5 separate regions of the Homo sapiens genome follow, and regions 1, 2, 3 and 5 are each linked to region 4. The links are contacts of gene promoters, found by promoter capture Hi-C in human tissues and cell types (Jung and others, 2019). All regions are on one chromosome and are shown on one strand. Each heading gives the region's core, a stretch centred on a gene start or on the middle of the fragment in contact. The rest is flanking DNA. Distances are from core to core; before and after follow the strand shown.

Region 1 (2,700 bases), core at 201-2,700, 520 kb after region 4:
CTGTAATCTTTGGTACATCGAGGTGGGCGGATCACGTGAGGTCGGGAGTTTGAGACCAGCCTGACCAACATGAAGAAATCCCGTGTCTACTAAAAATACAAAGTTAGCCAGGCATGGTGGTGCATGCCTCTACTCCCAGCTACTTGGAAGGCTGAGGCAGGAGAATCGCTTGAACCTGGGAGGCAGCGGTTGCGGTGAGCTGAGATTGCGCCATTGCACTCCAGCTTGGGCAACAAGAGTGAAACTTCTTCTCAAAAAACAAAAACAAACAAACAAACAAAAAACCCAAGTAAACTAGTTATGAAGTGGACGTTCATCAACTTCATTGTGCCAAGACAGCTAAAGGGGGCACCTGGTCTTGCCTTGGGGAGGTTGGGAGGGCTTCCTGTAGGAGGTAACCTGGGAACTCCAACCTTAGAAGTGATCTCCAAAAAGCCAGTTACCACCTCCATGATAGCTACCTCCAAAAGCTGGTGTCTGACTCATCCATCCATCCATCCATCCATCCATCCATCCATCCATCCACCTACCCATTTATTGAGCTTCTATAGATGCCAGGCATGGTTCAAGGAGGTGCTGGGTACAAATCAGGTAAAAATCTCTGCCAGGATGAAGCAGAGTGAGGGATGGTCCCTCCAACCACAAGCAAAATAATGACAAGATAATTCTGGAAGGAGTAACTGCTAGGAAGGAAATAAAACTGAGTGAAGGAGGGAGAAGTGTCCCGGTTTCAAAACAAGATCCACAAAAACTTAGCTAATCAAGGATGCCACCTTCTTCCCGAGCCATGGGGACCTTATCACCCTCCAGCAGACAGTGCATAGAGGAGGAACTCCTCCCAGTGGCCCTGCTGGCTCAGTCGCCTGCGCAGCAGTAATCGAGCGCCTCCAGTATGCACCAGGCAACCTTCTAGACATTAAACTGTGTGGGGGATGGGAGGGAGGTTTCTGTATGCCTTTGGGCACGTCACTCCTCCTCAGGCCCTCAGGTTCACTTCTGTAACTAAGGCTTCAGGATGGGTCATTCAGCAACCCCAGAGCTGCCCTGCCCGTCAAGCTTGAACTCTTTAAGGAAATAACATTTAGAGTGGACTGTGCCCCCAGCAGCCCCCAAGGTGAGAGTGCATAGATGGGGGTGTTTATCCCCATTTCGCAGATGGTCAGGATGAAGCTCAGAGGAGAGGCAGGAGTCGCACAGGCTGCGCGATACTGACCCGTGTTGGGGTCCAGCCCAGGGTCCCCCGCCCCCGCCCCAGCCCCCGCCCCAGCCCCCGCCCCAGCCCCCGCCCCAGCCCCAGCAGCCGGGAGGCTTCGGTCCCTTTAAGAACGCCCCGCGGGGCCAAGCAGGAAGGGGGAGGTGCCAACGCCCGGGACGGACGTCTGCATGAGCCAACGGGTGCGGCAGTCGCGGCAGCGGCGGCCAATGGGCACGGCAGGGGCGGGGCCAAGCGGCCGAACCTGGTTCCCGAGGCGCGGCGGCCGCGGCTGGGGGCGGGGAGGGGGGCGCAGGACCCCAAGTGGGGGTCCCGGAGCCAGAGGCAAGTGTCCTGGGGTGCTGGGGGCGCCGTGCCGGCCGGGCCGCTGCCCTGGCCTAGGCTGGTCCGGGGGCTAGCGCGCCGGGGGCTGCGGCCGATGGGCGGGGCGAGGGGCCGCGGGGGTGGCGAGCCGGGGGGGCACGGGGGTCGGGGGTGCCCGAGGGGGCGCGGCCGGGCGGGGGTGGCCAGGGATGGGGGTCACTGGGGGCAAAGGGGATCCAGTGGGGGGGTCCCGATGGAGGCGTGCAGGGCCAGGGGCGCCCGAGGCGTGCGGGGGTCGGGTGCCCCAGACTGGTGGCGTCAGACAGGCGTGGGTCGTTGGGGGCCTGGGTCGCGGCTTGACTGAGGGCCCGGCCGGGGCTGTGGGGCGTCAGGAGAGCGTGGGGTGTTATGGGATCGGAAAGGGGGGGGCGTCTGGGGACACTGGAGTGTTTACGGCGAGACGGAGCGGCTGTGGGGGGAGCTGGCCCGTGCTGGGGGCGGTGGTGGTTGGGGTGGGGGGTGGGAGGGGAGGCCGAATTGTGCGGGCGCGGGGAATTATGGGGGTGGGGGCTGGGAGGGTCTCTCAAAGTGGGGCTCCGAGCCCGGGAGGAGCAGGCAGGTGAGGGTTAGGGAGGGGATGCGGCGGGCTGGTTTGATGGCTGTGCCACACTCTTCTGAGCTTGGGGCCTGGGGGACGGAGGGGTTGGTTATTGGTTCAGGAGGTCTGGGGCAAGGAAGAGGCTGTAGAATGTGGTGGGACCTCGACCACTCCTGGAAAGGAGGCTGCTTTGAGGGGGTGGGACCGAGGCCTGATGAGAGGAGGATGGTCTCCTGGGGAAGGATTTGGGCCAGGGTCCCTGATGTTGGGGTTGTGGGGGATAGTGTTAGATTCAGAGTGTGGAAGGAAAAAACGCTTGGGGTTTCTGGGTGATTACAGTTGGTGCTTTTGGGGAGGGTCTCCCCTTTGGAGAAGAGGCTGGAGGTGGGAGGCCCTGGTAAAAGATTCAATTTCCCCCAGTGGCCTTAGAGGCTCTAAAAATGGCTTCCCTAAGGCCTCGGAGGCTGTCCTCTCCACAAAAATCCCAGCACCCTTCGCTCAGCTTATAATCAGGCAAAGCCACAGGGCCTGAAGCCCCAGGTTCAAATCCTCCTTTGGCCTTTGGCTTTCTCTGTGACCTTGGGCA
Region 2 (2,700 bases), core at 2-2,501, 830 kb before region 4:
GACGGGGTTTCACCATATTGGCCAGGCTGATCTTGAACTCCTGACCTCAGGCAATCCACCTGCTTCATTAAATTATGCACTAAAAGTGTATAATTACACTGTTTGTAATACAAATGATAAACGCTAGAGGTGACGGATATCTTATTTACCCTAATGAAATTTCTACATATTGTATGCCTGAATCAAAATATACCATATAAGGCATAAATATATACACATACAATATACCCACAAATACTAATAATAAATTTCAGTAAGAAAAAAATAGGCAGGGTGCGGTGGCTTATGCCTGTAATCCCAGCACTTTGGGAGGCCGAGGTGGGCGAATCACTTCAGGTCAGGAGTATGGGACCAGCCTGGCCAACATGGTGAAACCCCGTCTCTACTAAAAATACAAAAATTAACCAGGCATGGTGGCGCACACCTGTAATCTGAGAACTCCCACGTTCAAGCAATTCTCTTGCCTCAGCCTCCTGAATAGCTGGGATTACAGGCATGTGCCATCATGCCCAGCTAATTTTTGTATTTTTAGTAGAGGTGGGGTTTCTCAGTGTTGGTCAGGCTGGTCTCGATCTCCTGACCTCAAGTGATCCATCTGCCTCAGCCTCCCAAAGTGCTAGGATTACAGGCATGAGCCACTGCACCCATCCCATACAACTTTATATTTAAAGAACCATAAATATTATATTAAAACCTGTCTAAACCAATAAATATACCTGGCTGTATTTTAATATTTTTAACTATAATTAATAATTTCTTTCTGTCACTATAATGTAGAAAAGCATTACTCTGAAACCCCACCTTATTTTTTATCTTTGCTTATTAATAAAATAATTCATTATGATTTTTGAAAAAAAGTTTTAAGATGTTCCGCATACATGTTAATGTAGGTTAGACCATCCAAAAGACATTCAAAGCATCAACATTAAGTCATTGGCTAGGATTATAGAAATGAGAACATGAACCCCCACCTTACACATTACTTAATATCAGTTAACTACAAAGAGCCTCTCCACTTATATTTTCATCATGCATCTTACATTTTAATGTCCTTACTCTTTTATAGAAAAGGTCATACATAATGCCCAACTAATAAAAAACAATCTCTAATATCTCTAATGCAGCAACAATTGATCACATGCTTTCACATGTGAATATAATAGGAATAAAATAGCATAAAGCAATGTGAAAGCTGTATTATATCATTATTCACTTTTCAAAAAAATTTTTTCAAGAAAACAAGTATACTTTCAATGTAATTACAGTGCTTCAAAAATCCACTTTTTAAAAAATTATATAGAAATAATTTATCTAACAGCTGTAGCTGTGGATTAGTTTTTATACTGAACATTCTGATTTAGTGTAATGTCTGAAGTGTCAGTGCCTTAATTATTCTATGGAAAATTCTCTGATATTTACATAGAATCAATTTTGAATTAAATATTTTTTGATATTTACTGCATCTGCAAAAATATATTTTGGTATAAACCCTCTGGTGTTTTCTAAGCTGTCATTTTTGGAAAAGAAAAGTCTTTCCATTCATTACATTTGCAGTACTATTCTCAATATAAATTCCCTTGATTCCCTGAAACAAAGCTTGAGCAACTGCTTCAGGGTTTTCCTCTAGTACTACATGTGTGCACTAAGATCTGTGACACAAGTAAAGGCACTACAACCCCCTTTATATTTGTAATGGCTGTCTTCAGAATAAATATTCTTCACTTTAAAGACTTCTATTTTCTGAAAGATTTTTTGACAGTAATTGCACTTTTAATGCTTTATTAACTATGAACCTTCTTCTGTTCAGTAAGATGTGAGTAGGCATTAATGGTTTTTCCATATTCTTTGTATTTGCACAATTTTTCTCAAGGATAAGAGCTTTCCTGTGAAATAAGGTATAAGCACTAATAAAATATTTTGCCACATTCTTCACACTTACAGGAGTTTTGGCAGTATGACTTCTATCACCTACAATCATGTATGACAATCATATAAAGGCTTTGTCACATTTTATACATTTCTAGGGTATTACACTAGTATAATTTATTTTTATGTATAGGAAATGTGGAGGTGTTGGTAAAAGCAATGTCGCATCTTTCAGGTTTCCAGATTTCCTCTTCAGCATGAATTATCGCCATGTCTCTTAAGAATTAAGAACTTGTAGCCAGGCATGGTGTCTCTTAAGAATTAAGAACTTGTAGCCAGGCATGGTGGCTCACGCCTGTAACCCCAGCACTTTGGAAGGCCAAGGCAGGTGGATCACCTGAGGTCAGGAGTTCGAGACCAGCCTGGCCAACATTGTGAAACCCCATCTCTACTAAAAATCCAAAAATTAGCCAGGCGTGGTGTTGGGCACCTGTAATCCCAGCTACTTGGGAGGCTGAGGCAGAAGAATGGCTTAAACCCAGGAGGCAGAGATTGCAGTGAACGGAGATCATGTCATTGCACTCCAGCCTCGGTGACAAGAGTGAAACTCCATCTCAAAAAAAAAGGAATTGAGAACTTGTTATAGGTTTATAGGTTTTGCCACATTCTTCACACTTGTAGGGCTTCTGTTTGGTATGAATTATGTGTAATAAGGGTTGAGAACTTCCTTAAAAAGCTTTGTCACATTCTTTATATTTGTAGGGTTTGTGTTCCATATAAACTCTCAAATTTACTAAGAGTCGAGGGCTGGTTAAAGGCTTTCCCACATTCATC
Region 3 (2,700 bases), core at 44-2,543, 580 kb after region 4:
TCATGCAGCTGCCTCTGTCAGACCCAGCAAGGTGGAGGATTTTCCTGAGACAGCACATTCAGGGATCTGTGCGCATCCTAAGCACTCAAGGTGGTTTATGGCCATGCTGAGGGCAACTGTCCCCCAAACCCAGCTGCTCCTCAAGCACGAAGGAAGACTGGGGCCTGGCTCTCGTGGCACCTCCTTGATGCCCACCTCAGGACACATATGTAACGCTTGCTCTGTCCTCACTGGGCCTGCCCATTTGAGGGGTGACCCTACTCTCTGGGGTGGTTGGATTGTCCAGATGTTCCCAGAAGCCTCTGGAGCCCTCAATGGGTTTTTATGGGGAATGCCAGCCCATATGGGCAATGGCTCAGAAGCAGTTACTCCTTTCTCAGGGGGTCTCCTGGTGGGGGGTAGCGGGGTCTGAGCAGCAGGGTCTACACGCACAGGGCCTTCTTTGTGTTCCTGAGTGATTAGGATTTACCCACTGCGTGGTGGTGGAAGCATCGGAGGTGTCAGCATGGCATGTAGCTGACGGTGGAGGCCAGCATCTTGGAAGGCTTTGGTTGGCTGCAGAGGCGCATGTGGGTGAGGTGGCAGGCAGGACCCGATGCCAACCTTTGTGGCTGGCAAGGTCACATCCCTGAGGTCCAGATGTGGCAGCTCCCAGGTTGCAGGTTCAAACTGGGAAGGGGACCTAAGAGCACCCTTGCAGTGAGTACTGGCTGGGGACCACGGGTCATGCCTTGAAGGGTGCCAGATTCTCTTGGCATCCTCTTATTTTTCTGTGATCTTTGCCTATCTTCTGGGACAGGGGTTTGGGTGCTTTGCAGAGGTTGCAGTGAGCAGACAATGAGATGAGGCGGTAAGAGCCGAGTCCGGTGCGGAGCTGTGAATCATCCAGGCGGCTGACGTGACACAGGGGCCCCGTGAAAGGGCGTGGTTTCTGCTTCAGAGACAGGCTCCCTTCTCAGAACCGCCTGGGTCTCTGAGGGCCTCAGGGGCAGCCTTGGTGAGTGTGGCCGACCACCGGAGGAGGAAGGACGGTCCTCCTGGGTCCTGAGTGTGTGCCTTGGTAGCTTGGCAAGCTGCCATCTCCTTCTGACCTGGGTCACATCCACAGTGGACACTCCCAGGACCGCACCCCCACTCTGGGTCACAGAGTACATCTTGGGTGGGTCTGTTGTACATAGACTGTTAGAAACGGGGCAGAGTGGCCTGAGGACGAGGTGCTCAGCAGCCTCTCTCTTCCTGCCCCTGTTGAGCCAGTGCCTGACACTGACCGCCCTTGGGGCCCTGAGCTAAGCTTCACACAGAAGCCCCTCCCCAGATTCCTTCCCAGGTTGCAGGGCTCCCACCCGAGGTGGAGCCCCCTCTGCAGGGCAGCCTGGGGGTGTTTGTGCTGTGGGGCTTGTTGCTTCCTGCCAAGGTCAGCAGGGGGTGGCTGTGCTCTCAGGGAGAAACAGTGGCTGAGGGGCTTCGTGATGCATCCAGGAGAGTGCCTTAACTGTTTTCATCCCCGTAGCTTGCTTTCTTTTTTTTTTTTTTGAGACAGAGTCTCGCTCTGTCGCCCAGGCTGGAGTGCAGTGGTGTGATCTTGGCTCACTGCCACCTCTGCCTCCTGGGTTCAAGCAATTCTCCTGCCTCAGCCTCCCAAATAGCTGGGACTATAGGCGTGTGCTACCACGCCCGGCTAATTTTTTGTATTTTTAGTAGAGATGGGGTTTCACCGTGTTAACCAGGATGGTCTCAATCTCCTGACCTCGTGATCCGCTCGTCTTGGCTCTCAAAGTGCTGGGATTACAGGTGTGAGCCACCGCGCCCGGCCCATCCCCGTAGCTTTCCCAGTGACTGTGAATGTGGCACGAATTTGGGCAAGGGATACCCTCTGCCTCCAACCACCAGGCCTCATGGGGCACCCTGGGCTGGGCCTGAATCTCGCCTCTAAGATGAGCCTTAGAGTTGGGGGCCAGACCTGGTCTCCCTGGTCTCCCTGGTCTCCCTGGCCCTGGGAGGAGATGGGCTCCCATAGTGGAGTGTTAGCTGTTTTCAGGGGAGAGGTGGAGGCAGCTGGAAAGCTTGGGTGCACTGGGGCTCGGCAGAAGGGGCCAGTCTGCTCTGTGGTGAGGCTGAGGACGGGTGGCCTTGGGAGTGTGGCAGAGAGGAGGCGCTCTAATAGCAGTTGAGCTTGGAAGGCCCAAAAGTGAGGTGGCCCTACAGACTGACAGGTCGAAGGCACACACATGGCCTTGTCTGCAGGGGAGTTGAGATGGAGGCCTGGAGGGGCCTCCTGGGGAGAGGAGAGCCCATGGGCCGCTTCTGCTGGGCTCCAAATAGTCCCATGGAGGTGAATGGGGTTTGGGACCTCCTAGCTGCCTGAGCAGGAAGCACAGTGGCAAGGCAGAGCTGCATTCTCAGGGACCCAACCCCCACAGAGGCCTGGCCTGGGCTCTGATGAGGGGATGGCCCATGTCAGGCCCTAGAGCGTTCTCATTCACCTCAGAAACGTCAGGAACCCAGGGCTAGGAGAGGCCCATGCTGTGCCCTGGAGGACCCCAGTGACCTAGGTCAGTCCCTTAGCTTCTTCCATTGTCAGATGTGATCAGATCATGGTCACTGTTGTCTGGGGGAAAGCAGTTGTTATCTGGCACCGCAGACCATGGGCAGAAGGCAGGTTTGGTGAGAGGGCAGTTTCTCGAAGGCCTTCCGTTCAAA
Region 4 (2,700 bases), core at 140-2,639:
AACATTAGTTTGCCTCACTCTAAAGAGTGTTTCCTTACTCTTTATCGGCTTCAAGGGCCCAGGGAGTGTCGGAGAGGGGTCCCGGGTCTGCAAGAGCTGGGAGCCCCGGCCCCGGCAACCCCCTCTCCGGCATCCTGCAGGAGGCACCCAAGATGATGAGCCCCCCTCCTCCGGCAGCGTCTCCACCGCCAGCCTGCCCCAGGACTCCGAGACACACGCTTGGCAGAGGGGCCGTCCCTTCCAGCTAAGCCTTTCCGGACCCAGTCAAAGTCACGACTCCTGCCAATCCCTCTGAGATAAACATAACAGATGGGCCCAAACGCGGTGGGTCCACAGCAGAGGGTCAGCGATGCCCAGGGTAGAATAGGCTCTGCCTCTAGCATTCAAGTGGTTTAGGTCTGTGGCTGGTAAAATGGAGATGATTCCGGTTTGGTCTGACAGATGGGATTATTCTAAGGTCCGGAAATCACTTTATAGACTGTCAAGCACTGTTAGAAATGAACACTGGGGTAAGCTTTTGTTTGGGGAGGGGAGGGTGCAGCGATCCTGAGATACCAAGGCTTGGGGGACTATTGGAGGACCTGGGGGATTCGGGGGGATTATTACAGAGGGTGTGCGAACACAGGTGCACGTGGAAGAAAGCCCAAGGTGGGAGAGAGAAAAGGGGGAGACAGAGGTGTGGGGCTGCCAGGGCAGAGGGCAGGTGCCAGGGGGAAGGTCCCTGAGAAGAGAGACACAGGTTGCTGGGGGAGTGGGCACGAGAGTAGCGAGCAGATACCTGGATATGAGGAAAGGCAGTGGGGGACGGGACTAGGTCCAGGTGTGAGTTGCGAGGCCATGAGTTAGGAGTCACAGGCTCAGGTGTGGGTGTGGGGGTGTCATCGACAAGGACAGACTCAGGTGATGTGGGGGGTGTTCGTGAGTGGGGGCGGGTGTTCGTGAGTGGGGGCGCGGTGTCAGGTGTGTGAGGGGGATGTCAGACCCAGCTGTGCGGGGCGCCGGGGACAAGGCCCCAGGGGTGTGGGAGATGTCAGCAAGGACAGTCTAAAGTGTATGGGGGATGTCAACGAAAAGGGACGTGGTGTCAGGCGTGCGTGGACTGCGGGTGACGGGCTCAAACCTGGATGCAGTAGCCCCCAGGGGGCAGTAGACGTGGAGTGTGGGGTTGGGGGGGGTCTTTAACCTCTTCCTGCCCTCGCGACGCTACTGTCATGCCCCGCCTCATCCGCCCCTCGCCCCGGGATCCATGACAGGACCCGTGCCTCACCTCAGTTCAGCCCGACAGGCGCGGGCCGCTGACGCTTGGGCCCCCCCGGCGCCCCCCGCGCCCCCTCACCGGCCCGGACGCGTCGCCGCCGCCGCTACCTCCAGCCGCCACGGCCCCGCCTCGCGCACCCCCAGAGCGCGCCACGGGAGGGGTCCACGCCACGCCCCGATTGGCTGCTCCCTGGCCAGTCAGCGCTGGAAGCGACAGTGATTGGCGAGTATGAAGCAGATGGGCAGCCCCTAAAGCCAATCGCTGATTGGCAGAGGTGGGGCTATTGGGAGAGGCCTGGGGTGCCTGAGTGGTCCCTCAGGGTGCTAGGCGCTGGGAGGCGAGGGCCTGGAGGCAGGCGAGGATTGGAATCTTGGCAGAAAACAGGCAGAACTGTCGGCCAATCGCTGGGGGCCAGGGGCGGGGCTACGAAGAAACTGGCGCTACCGGTGGGGCAGAGGCGAGAGGAACGGAGGGCGTAGCTTGGGGGGAGACCGGGATTGGCCGCAAAGCCGAAGACTGGCAGGCCCCGCGGCCAGTCGCAGCGGCCGTGGGCGGTACGCCCCCAGGGGAGGGCTGGAGCGTTCAAGGTGCAGTCCGACCCGGAGCGCGGCAACCCGACGTGGCCTCGGACGCCTGGCGCAGGGTCCCCTGAGGCTCTCGTGTAGAGCCCGCCCTCTGGCCACCTAGCACAGAAGCGGATGTGAACTTGGACCATCAAGGCTGAAGGACTCCTGGATAATTCTCTATCCCCTTACTCCCCACTAATCCCCTGCAGACGACACGGAGAGGGCAGATTCGCTGGAGGTCACTCTGAACTGCCCTCTCCATCTCGAGGTGGTGTGAAGACATGGAAATAAGGGGCGGAATCCTACTGAAACGCGCTGCGTGGTTTTCTGAGTGTCTGACCTCTCTGCGTCCCAGCTTTCCCCGCCACGGTATCCAGTGACATCCCTGTTGGGCCTTCTCCCTGCCAAGTCTTTTTTTGAATTAACTGAATCTTAACCACAATCCCATGAGGTCAGAGAGACCACTGGCTCCTTTTACAGAAACCAGAGCACAGAGAGGTCAAGCTCCTTGCCCAAGGTTACACAGCATTCTCTGGTTGCTAAACCAGAGAATGAATCTAGAGCAGCCTGCTTTTTGGAAAGAGTGTGTCAGAGAAGAGCCACTGGGGGCCTCAGAGACCTGGGTTTGAATCCTTGTCCAATCACTGGCCCACCACACAACCTTGGGCAAAAGCCCTTGTGAGCCTCAGCTGTTTCATTTGGAAAAGAGGGGGGAAAATGATTCCTATGCCTTGATCTTTCCTCTCTGGGGTTGCTTCCCTGGGAAAATTTACAACTCAGCTCTCATTTTAATTATCTGGTGAAAGCATTTGACCCTGAGCAGGTCATGTGCGGCCTGTGAGCCTCAGCTCCTCTGTGAAGTGCAGAAAAATGCCG
Region 5 (2,700 bases), core at 158-2,657, 550 kb after region 4:
GAAGTTTTTTTTTTCCTTTTTACTATATAAGCAGTATAACTCAGGGTAGAAAGCCTGCAATGTACCTAAAATTAGCAAGTCTGTTCTCATTGCCCCAGGTAATTTCTGTTGACACCTTTGCACCCTCCTCTGTCTCGCCTGGGTGTACCGTGTTGTCATAGTGGCACAATCATATGGTTTTGCGTCTCTTCTTCCCTGAACACTTTATGTTTTAATGCTGCACCTTCTGTGCATCGTGGAGCCTGACAGGTCAGTATTCTTCGGGCATTTTTGTGTTCTTGGCACTATGCTTGGTTCTGGGGATGTCCGGATGCTGCAGGCCTTGTGTGTGTACAGGCCAGTCCACTGTCCCGTAGTGAGGCTACATAGAGCGATGAGGTGAGGTGAGGCAGGTGACCCAGCACAGGCCACGGCCTGGCATGCCCATGTGTCTGTGAGTGGAGCCTGGAGTATGAGGCTGCGATTTTGAGGCCAGGGAAGGCAGCTCAGCCCCGCTTGGCTTGCTCCTCTTTGGACAAATTGAGCTGCTGGTGATGGAGGGCTGTGGTCAGTCCTTCTCACCGTTCTTCAGATGGGGAGACCGCAAGTATATACCCTACTGTTAACACCCCTGTCCTTCCCCCAGGCCCATCGGGGGCCTCAGCTCTTCATGAGATGCTGTTGTTGCGCCCCGTGTCCTTTTTATATGTTGGTGAAAATGTTTTCACAAAGAGGCGTCTCTCTTGAAGGATGCTGAGAACTGCATATTGGGGATCAGGTACATTGGTGGCGCTGCTCCCACTGACAATTTGGGGCTCCAGGCTGCTGGCACCCTCCCTGAGCCTCAACTTCCCAATTCAGGTGAAGGTGTTGTCCTAGAGGTGAGACAGGCTTGTTCTCCCTGGCTGTGCACGAGGTGTCAGCTGCTCTCCTCGTTGACCCAAAAAATGATCCCAGAAAGCAAAGCCTCCAAAATTTAAAATAGCTTCTCCTATAGCTCTGCTGTTAGGGTTTTATTGTTTTTTTTCTGAAATAGAGAACTGGCTTCCTAGTTTTGGCTCATTGCAACCTCTGCCTCCCAGGCTCAAGCAATCCTCCCACCTCAGCCTCCTAAATAGCTGGTACTACAGACACCCATCATCACGCCTGGTTGCTTTTTGTATGTTTTTGTAGAGATGGGGTTTCACCATGTTGCCCAGGGTGGTCTTGAACTTCTGAGCTGAAGCGACCTGCCCGCCTTGGCCTCCCAAAATGCCGGGATTACAGGCGTGAGTCACCGCACCTGGCCTGTTTCTTTATTTTTATTTCTTTATTTTTGAGACGGAGCTTTCTGCTCTGTTGCCCAGACTGGAGTGCAATCACGTGATCACAGCTCACTGCAGCCTCAACATCCTGGGCTCAAGCGATCCTCCCACCTCAGCCTCCCCAGTAGTTGGGACTACAGGCATATGCTATCACACTCAACTAATTTTTTTTCTTTTTTTTTTTTGAGACGGAGTCTTACTCTGTCGCCTAGACTGGAGTGCAGTGGCATGATCTTGGCTCACTGCAACCTCTGCCCCCTGGGTTCAAGCGATTCCCCTGCCTCAGCCTCCCCAGTAGCTGGGATTACAGGCATCTGCCACCATGCCCGGCTAATTTTTGTATTTTTAGTAGAGACGGGGTTTCACCATCTTGGCCAGGCTGGTTTTGAACTCCTGACCTCATGATCCATCCACCTCGGCCTCCCAGAGTGCTGGGATTACAGGCGTGAGTCACTGTGCCCGGCCCTTTTTTTTTTTTTAATTTGTAGAGGCAGGGTCTCACTGTGTTGCGCAGGCTGGTCTCGAACTCCTGGGCTCAAGCAGTCCTCCAACCTCAGCCTCCCAAAATGCTGGGATTACAAGCTTGAGCCACTGTGCCTGGCCAGCTTCCTGGTTTCTTTAGCAATTTTCCCACTGGAAAGCCCACAGCACTGTCAGAGGGAGCTGGGGCCCCCTGTACTTCCACCTTCTCCATCAGGCCCCCTCCGGTGGTATGGTGGGTGGTGGGCAGTGGGCAGGGAACCAGACTGATGTCCTGTGGTGTGGATGGACCACATCGTGCTCATCCATTCCTCTGTCCATGGGCATTTGGGTTGCTTCCACCTCTTGACTGTAGTGAACCATGCTACTGTGAACAGGGCATGTAAGTATCTGTTCAAACCCCTGCTTTCAGTTCTTTTGGATACATACCCAGAAGTAGACCTGTTGGATCGCCGAGGCTGGAGTGCAGTGACGTGATCTTGACTCACTGCAACCTCTGCCTCCCAGGTTGAAGCAATTCTCCTGCCTCAGCCTCCCAAGTAGCTGGGATTACAGGCGCCCACCACCACGCCAAGTTAATTTTTTTTTTTTTTGAGACGGAGTTTCGCTCTGTCACCCAGGCTGGAGTGCAGTGGTGCTATCTCAGCTCACTGCAAGCTCTACCTCCCGGGTTCATGCCATTCTCCTACCTCAGCCTCCCGAGTAGCTGGGACTACAGGCGCCCACCACCATGCCTGGCTAATTTTTTATATTTTTAGTAGAGATGGGGTTTCACCATGTTAACCAGGATGGTCTCGATCTCCTGACCTCATGATCTGCCCGCCTCAGCCTCCCAAAGTGCTGGGATTACAGGCATGAGCCACCGCACCCGGCCCATGCGTAGCTAATTTTTATATTTTTAGTAGAGACGGGGTTTCACCATGTTGGCCATGCTGGT

Evidence for each region. Contacts are between HindIII fragments. The study calls those that stand out against the background at their distance.
Region 1: a contact is called between the fragment with the promoter of FKBP8 here and the fragment with the promoter of SLC25A42 in region 4, in 2 of the 25 tissues and cell types used here (dorsolateral prefrontal cortex and spleen).
Region 2: a contact is called between a fragment that was not itself captured here and the fragment with the promoter of SLC25A42 in region 4, in 1 of the 25 tissues and cell types used here (stomach).
Region 3: a contact is called between a fragment that was not itself captured here and the fragment with the promoter of SLC25A42 in region 4, in 2 of the 25 tissues and cell types used here (dorsolateral prefrontal cortex and spleen).
Region 5: a fragment that was not itself captured here is called in contact with the fragment with the promoter of SLC25A42 in region 4 in 1 of the 25 tissues and cell types used here (dorsolateral prefrontal cortex).

Annotation. Positions count from the first base shown.
Region 1 is chr19:18,542,323-18,545,022 of GRCh38, reverse strand. It overlaps FKBP8 (FKBP prolyl isomerase 8), which reads left to right and starts at 1,450. Exons shown (of 9, transcript NM_012181.5): 1 at 1,450-1,537. RefSeq lists a silencer at 1,205-1,634. The HindIII fragment of the contact is 12,332 bases long and covers 1-2,700 here.
Region 2 is chr19:19,892,777-19,895,476 of GRCh38, reverse strand. It overlaps ZNF253 (zinc finger protein 253), which reads right to left. Exons shown (of 4, transcript NM_021047.3): 4 at 803-2,700. Among named protein-coding and RNA genes, the nearest start is that of ZNF93, 6.8 kb to the left of the region's middle. The HindIII fragment of the contact is 4,796 bases long and covers 1-2,700 here.
Region 3 is chr19:18,484,819-18,487,518 of GRCh38, reverse strand. All of the region lies in intron 1 of ELL (elongation factor for RNA polymerase II), which reads left to right. Among named protein-coding and RNA genes, the nearest start is that of ELL, 36 kb to the left of the region's middle. RefSeq lists an enhancer at 1,467-2,052. The HindIII fragment of the contact is 6,018 bases long and covers 1-2,700 here.
Region 4 is chr19:19,062,683-19,065,382 of GRCh38, reverse strand. It overlaps SLC25A42 (solute carrier family 25 member 42), which reads right to left and starts at 1,389. Exons shown (of 8, transcript NM_178526.5): 1 at 1,268-1,389. LOC124904655 (a long non-coding RNA gene) reads left to right here and starts at 1,858. Exons shown (of 3, transcript XR_007067160.1): 1 at 1,858-2,193. RefSeq lists silencers at 1,218-1,487, 1,748-1,917. The HindIII fragment of the contact is 11,421 bases long and covers 1-2,700 here.
Region 5 is chr19:18,510,923-18,513,622 of GRCh38, reverse strand. The region is part of intron 1 of ELL (elongation factor for RNA polymerase II); the gene reads left to right. Among named protein-coding and RNA genes, the nearest start is that of ELL, 9.8 kb to the left of the region's middle. The HindIII fragment of the contact is 5,853 bases long and covers 1-2,700 here.